2 separate regions of the Homo sapiens genome follow, and region 2 is linked to region 1. Evidence: promoter capture Hi-C in 16 types of primary human blood cells and fetal thymus (Javierre and others, 2016). All regions are on one chromosome and are shown on one strand. The core of a region is centred on a gene start or on the middle of the fragment in contact, and the rest is flanking DNA. Distances in the headings are between cores, read along the strand shown.

What was found. Contacts are between HindIII fragments. The CHiCAGO score rates a contact against its expected background, and 5 or more counts as called.
Region 2: a contact is called between a fragment that was not itself captured here and the fragment with the promoter of ZSCAN10 in region 1, in 1 of 17 cell types (naive CD8 T cells). The highest score is 5.6, in naive CD8 T cells.

The regions. Positions count from the first base shown.
Region 1 is chr16:3,097,416-3,101,404 of GRCh38, forward strand. ZSCAN10 (zinc finger and SCAN domain containing 10) reads right to left here and starts at 1,879. Exons shown (of 6, transcript NM_032805.3): 1 at 1,775-1,879. RefSeq lists enhancers at 2,632-2,681, 3,936-3,989 and a silencer at 2,842-2,901. The HindIII fragment of the contact is 16,276 bases long and covers 890-3,989 here.
Region 2 is chr16:3,445,911-3,449,899 of GRCh38, forward strand. NAA60 (N-alpha-acetyltransferase 60, NatF catalytic subunit) reads left to right here. Exons shown (of 8, transcript NM_001083601.3): 2 at 2,561-2,630. Among named protein-coding and RNA genes, the nearest start is that of NAA60, 4.2 kb to the left of the region's middle. The HindIII fragment of the contact is 4,492 bases long and covers 1-3,989 here.

The DNA.
Region 1 (3,989 bases), core at 629-3,128:
AACGGGAAGTTCCCTGCCCCAGTCCCATCCCATCCAGGTGTTGAGGGGCTTCCTAGCGTTAACCCTCAAGCTCCCAGTTTGGGAGGTGGATGGGGACAGGGTGGGGCCAGATAAGCGAAGACAAAGTGAGAAATCCAGATTTCAACCCCTGCATGTGTGAGAGTGTAACCACCCCCGAGCCGGAACTACGCTTTCCTGCCCTCTGGCATCCACTCCAGGCAGCCCCCATCCTCCCACCCCATCTCTCCCCACTAGGGCGATGGAGTGCCTCAATCACAGATGAGCGTATTTCTCTGCCTGGCCTGGGAGTAGGAGCTGTGTCTAGTTCAATGAGTGTTCATCCAGCACTTGAAGTTGCTTCAGTGTCTGTTAGCAGAAATTAGGGAATGGCAGTGATTCTGGCCATCTCGAAGGAAAGCATGTAACAACGTCTAGGACAGAAAAAGTCTGTGATAAATGATCAGAAAAATGGTGTTGTGAGGCCGGATGCGGTGGCTCATGCTTATAATCCCAGCATTTTGGGTGGCCAAGGCAGAAGGATTGCTTGAACCTGGGGGGTCAAAGCTGCAGTGAGCCATGTTCGCGCCACTGCACACCAGCCTGGATAAAAGGCGAAGACCCTGTCTCAAAAAAAAAAAAAAAAAAAAGAAAGAAAGAAAGAAAAGAAAAGAAAAGAAAAAAAAAGAGTGGGGGAGGGGGAAGAAAATGGGATTACGTTTCACTGGTTTTTAGTAGCATGCACAAAATAACAAGAAAACTAATCACTGCTCATCCATTGCCGTGCAGGAGCAGCGGGCAGGTACTGAGTGTCTGGCGATTAAGCTCATTTCATCCCAGTCCAGCCCACGCACGAAACAATCACTTCTCCCTTTGCCAAGTGCAAAGACCAAGCTTTGCACTTGGTGACATGCTCAGGGTCACACCAGGTGGAGCCAAGGTTTGCTTTAGGCTGAGAGTGTAGGTCTAGAACACAGTGCCAAAGCTCTGAAACAGAAAAGGAACTGATCTCCATCCTGCTCTGTGCCATTTTCCTAGCCTTAGCCGAAATATCACAGCATGAAACAGAAAAAAAATGAAGATTCCAAATTTCAGCTCTCAGGGCAAGCCACACAGGGAGGCCGGAATCTCCAGGTGAGATCTCTCCAAAAGGTTTCAAAGAGGTGGAATTCGAGACAAGTTGGCTTCAGAGAATCTCTCCCTCCCCCCAGATCTCCAGGACAAAAGCTCTGTTAATATGCACCTCTGTTGGGGGTGGGCTGGGTAGGGAGGCAGGCAGAGGCTCTACAGCCACCATCCAACATTTGAGCAGCTTAATTTGGAGCCCGGGGTGGAGGTGCTGCCACGAGACCCACCCAGGTCACCTGAGAGCCCAGAGTTGGGGAAGGCGGCAAAGGTGGGGTCCTCAGCCGGGAACACTCCCTTTCTCCCTGGACACAGTTGGCAGCTGCCTGATTTGTTGTTTGTTGGAGGGGCCTCCCTCCGCGTGCTGGGCTGAGTGGACAAGGCCCATCAGTCCACCTGGGAGCACGTGAAGCCAGCCTTCTTCAATGTCACAGGAAGTTCTGCGATCTCCCTCGTCCCCAACGCCCCCATCGCGACAGGTCCACCAAGCTGGCTGGCACGAGGCTCCCCAGCAGACCCTCTACATCCTCCCAAGACTCTTCCAGCCCCCACCCCAGCACCAAGGCCTGGAGCCTCCCCTGCTCTCTCCAAGCTGCTGCGAGCTCCTAGCACCCGTCCTGGCAGCCTGCACCCCGACCTCCCTCCAACTCACCACTCGGAGTCCCCACTACACAGGCAGAGATGCTGGGGGGTTTTCTGAGGACTCCAGGGCCAAAGCCAGCCTCCGCCAGCCTGGGGAAGGGCTCTGGGAAAATGGAACAGGAAGTTCCTTGCCCCAGTCCCATCCCATCCAGGTGATGAGGGGCTTCCTAGAGTTAACCCTTAAGCTCCCAGTTTGGGAGCGGGATGGGAAGAGGGCGGGGCCAGTGACATGAAGACAAAGTGAGAAATCCAGATTTCAATCCCAGCCTGTGTGAGAGTGTAACCACCTCCCAAATCAAGACTGGCCTGGTGCCCCTTGCAGGTCTGCCCGTCTTTCCTTTGGGCTAAGAGCTGCCATTTTTAAATGCCCACAGTGTGCTGGCTTCTTTGCTAGGCTTTTCATTCACGTGACTACTCTTTGCAATGGCCTCCTGTGTGCCAGGCACTGTTACAAAGCAGGGGCTAAGGACACAGAGAGAAACTGAAGGAATGAGGCCCTGCTCTCAGGGGCTTACATTCTAGGGCAAAGGAGCAGCGACGGTGCTAGGAAAAAATGGAAGAGGAGGATGTGATGGGGCAGAGTTTGCTCCATCTACACGGTCACCTAAAGTCCTCCCAAGTCCTGCCAGGTGGCTTTTGTCCCAACTTTACCGATGACGAAGCAAGGGCTCCCCGGGAGGGAAGTGACCTAACCAACAGCGTTTGGCCCCAAACTAATTCCATCCCTGTGCTTAAGGTGCCTTCTTGGGTTGTGCCCTTGGCTGCAGCTGGTGCCTTCCTGAGCGTTCTGAGCCCCCGGGGAGCCAGGACCACCTCTCAGGTGTTGGCCGTTCCCCCGGCCTAGACCCCTCGGTCCGTTGGGGCCAGGACCCTCCTGACTGGCTCATCTGACGGGTCTTTGTTTTCCTGCACTTAACACCTGAGCTCATCCTGTTCCTACTTCAGTTGTCTAGTGCTCCCTTCGTACGACGGTCTTTCTCCTTGGTCTGCTCTGCATTCCCCGCGTCCCGCGCCTCGCTCTCCCAGTCGCGGGCTCCTCCCACTCCATAGTTTGTTCAGGGGCGGGGCCAGAAAACCCCGCCCCCAGGGAAGTGGGCCTGAAGGCCAAGGGGCGGGGCGGGGTTCTGTAGGGACGGAGGGGGCGTGTCCGGGGCGGGGCGGGGTGCTGTAGCGCCGGAGCGGGTGTGGCCTTGGCGGGACCAGGCAGCCATTACAGTCTCGGAAGCGAGAGGCGTGGGGCCTGTCTCATCATGCCCGGTTCATTTTTTTTTTTTTTTTTTTTTTTGTAGAGATGGGGTTTCATCATTTTGGCCAGGCTAGTCTTGAACTCCTGAACTCAGGTGATCCACCTGCCTTGGCCTCCCAAAGTGCTGGGATTACAGGCATGAGCCACCGCACTCAGCCTCTTTAATCACCTGAGGTCAGGAGTTCAAGACTAGCCTGGACAACATGGTGAAACCCCATCTCTACTAAAAATTTTTGTTTCTTTTAAAATTGTAATTTTCCCAATTCCACTTATTTTATTTTATTAGAGACAAGGTCTTGCCATATCTCCCAGGCTGGACTCAAACTCCTGGGTTAAAGTGATCCTCCCATCTCGGTCTACCAAGGAGCTGGGACTACAGCTGGGACTCCATGCCATCGAGCGTTCTTTCCCTCTCGTTGCTGAATGATTTTCCTCATTACATCAGTTATTCATTCTGCTATGGGTAGCCCGTGGGCAGTTTTCAGTTTGGGGCTATCTCTAGTGGTTCTCATATGTCTCTGGTGACCATATATGGGACAGCAGTCTGAAGTAGGTGAAGAGCAGAGTGAGAGGTTAGGTTTATCTTTGGGAGGTAAGGACTGCACGTGTGTACTCCGAGGTCTGAGGCCACCGAGGAAGCCTCAGGGACTGGCCTCCGTGTAGAGCTGCTCTCACTGCCCTGGGCATTGGGGACAAGGCCAGGACAAGCAGGACCCCGTGCGTGTTTCCTCGAATGGCTTATGGTCGCTTCAGAAAGACACTGGGTGTTTGTTGGCGTTCGGGCTGCCAGGGCCATCGAATCCGGTTGTCTGCCAGGGTGTGCAGGGGGAGTGGCGCTTTTCAGGTGTAGGAACAGCTCTGGAAATAAACGAGGGATGGAAAAAGGAGACAGACTAGGCCCTCCACAGCCCAGCTGCATGTGTCCTTGGCGAAGTCACTTTTCATTTGAAAACCATCACTGCCTCCTCTGTAATGTGTG
Region 2 (3,989 bases), core at 969-3,468, 350 kb after region 1:
GACATACAAAGTCCAAGATAGACCAAGATTGAAAAATTAGACCACATTATATCCCTAACTCAATTTTGTAAAAAATCACAAATGCTTGACTGTATACCCACTATATGTTCAAGTAACATGTTTTAATCATCAAAATTTAAAAATCCTTCCACGACAATCTTTTGCAAGTTTTTCCATTTCTGTCTTTAACATGGTACCAGTAATAACAACTACAACCTGTTTGTATTGAAATTATTTCTATAGCCCAGCATCTGCTTTCTCTGAAAATTATCTTTTTAAAAATAGTAAAACTAACATCATTACAAAAGTAGTATATGTGCATTTCAGAAAGTTAGGAAAGGCTGGGTGCGGTGGCTCACGCCTGTAATCCCAGCATTTTGTGAGGCTGAGGTGGGCAGATCACAAGGTCAGGAGATCGAGACCATCCTGGCTAACACGATGAAACCCCATCTATACTAAAAATACAAAAAATTAGCCAGGCGTGGTAGCGGGCACCTGTAGTCCCAGCTACTCGGGAGGCTGAGGCAGGAGAATGGCGTGAACCTGGGAGGCGGAGCTTGCAGTGAGCCGAGATCACACCACTGCACTCCAGCCTGGGTGACAGAGTGAGACTCTGTCTGAAAAAAAAAAAAAAAAGAAAATACAGGGGAAAAAATGGCAACACATTCCTGTCACCCAGAGATCACCACTATTTACTCTTTATTATTTGTTTTTTTTTTTTTGAGACAGTCTCACTGTTGCCCAGGCTGGAGAGCAGTGGTGCGATCTCTGCTCACTGCAACTTCCGCCTCCTGGGTTCAAGTGATTCTTGTGCCTCAGCTACCAGAGTAGATGAGATGATGGGCAGATGCCACCACAACCATTTAATTTTTGTATTTTTAGTAGAGATGCAGTTTTGCCATGTTGGCCAGGCTGGTCTCAAACTCCTGGCCTCAAGTGATCCGCCCATGTCAGCCTCCCAAAGTGCTGGGATTACAGGTATGAGCCACCGCACCTGGCCTGCTCACTGCAACCTCCATCTCCCAGGTTCAAGCAATTCTTCTGGCTCAGCCTCCCGAGTAGCTGGGACTATAGGTGCGTACCACCACACCTGGCGAATTTTTGTATTTTTAGTAGAGGACGGGTTTTCCCCATATTGGCCAGGCTGGTCTCGAACTCCTGACCTTGTGATCTGCCCGCCTTGGCCTCCCAAAGTGCTGGGATTACAGGCGTGAGCCCCTGCCCCCGGCCCCTATTCTTAAGTATATATCTTTTCCCTAGTGATTTTTATGATGATGCAGCTGTATATTGAAACGGAAAGATACTCATTTTTGGGAGTAAAATTGGTTATGAAACAAAAACAATAACAAAGTTGCTTTTGAAGACTATGCGTTAAAATGGTAGTGGTAGTTATATTTTTAATTTTTATGGGTACATAGTAGGTGTATATATTTATGTGGTACATGAAATATTTTGATGCAGGCATGCAATGTGTAATCACTTCAAGGTAAATGGGGTATCTTCCCTGGCGATGTTTAACATGATTTCCAGAATGAATTGCTCACTACGTTTGGTGTGTTTTCCATTCCCAGATGGTACTGCCTTTTAAGGTCTATTACTTAAACATAAGTATGGCTCTGGTTCTTACCGCCTTTACCGTATCCTTCATGGGAAGTTGATACTGATCGGAAACTGACACAGAGCCTTCTCACCTACACTAAGGGGGCCTAGGTAAGCAAGATTATCTTTCTCCCAACTTCAGCAAGAGGTTTTCTTACTGGTGTTCAGAATGCTTGATTGAGCAGTTAGAAAACTGTTGCTACCTAGTCTCCAGTCTTATAAGGGGACAATGGCTGCAAGTCATGCCTGCAAGAACAAGAGGCTCACACAGTTTTGAAATTAGCACAACTTCTAGCTGGATAGGAGTCTTTTTAGTTTCATTTAGCCTTGAGTTGAAACTAATAGGAGTCTTTTAATTAGAAAAAAGCTCAGGGCTCTAAACGTACCTTCAACATGTTAATTCTGTTACCAAAAACTGGCTTGGTCTGTGTTAACTCCCAACAGAATTCTTTTTCAGTCACTGAGGCAGAGGTGCTTCCAGAGAAAGATTCTTGACCTACTCATACTGAATAATTATCGTTACTAGAAGCTGCAACCAAAGACTCCTGGAGGGTAGTAAGAGGTACAGAGAATGCAGGTTAGATACAGTGAGGACAGAGAAGAAAGGATGGGTTGGAGGCTGGGCGTGGTCACTCACACCTATAATTCCAGCTACTTTAGAGGCTGAAGCAAGAGAATCACTTGAGTCCAGGAGTTCGAGGCTGCAGTGAGCTAGCATTGTGCCACTGCACTCCAGCTTGGATGACAGAGCAAGACCTTGTCTCAAAAAAAAAAAAAAAAAAAACATGGGTTGCTTTGTAGTTTAGAGAACTACATGTTTAGATAGTTAATTTTTCCCCAAAAGGGCCCATCAGATTGATACTCTGAGATCCAGGGTTTGTCTGACACTCATTAGCCTATGAGTTGTAGAGATGGGATGGCCAGGAGTGAAGTGATGGCCTTGTGTCTTTCTCCCCTGCAGCATACAGAAAGGCTGTACCTGGAGGAAGGAAGTGCGGAGCCAGCCTGAGTTGGGAGAAGAGCTCCAGAGAGTGAGTCAAAGCGCTCTGTGTCCTGCTATTAATGATGCCCTCATAGTCAGAGGAAGCCTACTTAAGTGAAATCCATTTTTGACCTGTCAAGTATTAAATATTCTCTTAATTTTTAGTACTGAATGATAGAAGGCGCCTAGTGAAACAAATGCTTTCACTTTTTTGCTAGGAGGGTAAATGAGTATATTCTTACGTTAGGTACACAGGGATACAGTACAAGTATGCCAGCCTCTTTAAACTATAAAGAAGTAAACAAGATTTGGTTTAAGCATCAGTCTCTTGTGAGTCTGATGGGTAAGCCCAGTCTCAGGGCACACTGACAATGTTAGTGGAGAACGAGACTCTCCCAGTGTGCTGCCCTGACCCTCTGAGATTGGTCTGTGTAGCCACGTGGTGGTCATCCTGTGCCACCTCTGGTTTGGTTCTAATCAAAGGAAGCAGTATCATCTGTGGTGATCCGTCTTACACACTTGCATCATTTTATACCAAAGGAGAATTTCTTTTGTTAAAAATTTATTTTTCATTATCTACTCATAAAGAAGGAGCCAAAGGGCTGGGCGCAGTGGCTCACGCCTGTAATCCCAGCACTTTAGGAGGTGAGGCGGGTAGATCTCTGGAGGTCAGGAGTTCGAGACCAGCCTGCCCAACATGTTGAAACCCCATCTCTACTAAAAAATACAAAAATGTAGCCGGGTGTGCTGGGCGTGGTGGCTCACGTCTGTAATCCCAGCACTTTGGGAGGCCAAGGCAGGTGGATCATGAGGTCAGGAGATCGAGACCATCCTGGCTAACACGGTGAAACCCCATCTTTACTAAAAATACAAAAAATTAGCTGGGCGTGGTGGTGGGCACCTGTAGTCCCAGCTACTTGGGAGGCTGAGGCAGGAGAATGGTGTGAACCTGGGAGGTGACAGTTGCAGTGAGCCGAGATCACACCACTGTACTCCAGACTGGGCGACAGAGCAAGACTCTGTCTCAGAAAAAAAAAGAAAAATTTAGCCAGGCATGGTGGCGCCCAACTGTAGTCCCAGCTACTCGGGAGGCTAAGGAAGAAGAATTGCTTGAACTCAGGAAATGGAGGTTGCAGTGAGCTGAGATCGCACCACTGCACTCCAGCCTGGGTGACAGAGCGAGACCCCATCTGATATGGTTTGGCTGTGTCCCCACCCAAATCTCATCTGCAATTCCCATATATTATGGGAGGGACCCAGTAGGAGGTAATTGAATCGTGGGGCAGGTCTTTCCCATGCTGTTCTCATGATAGTGAATAAGTCTCACGAGATCTAATGGTTTTTAAAAAGGGGAGTTTCCCTGCACAAGCCCTCTTTTGTCTGCCACCATGTGAGACATGCCTTTTAC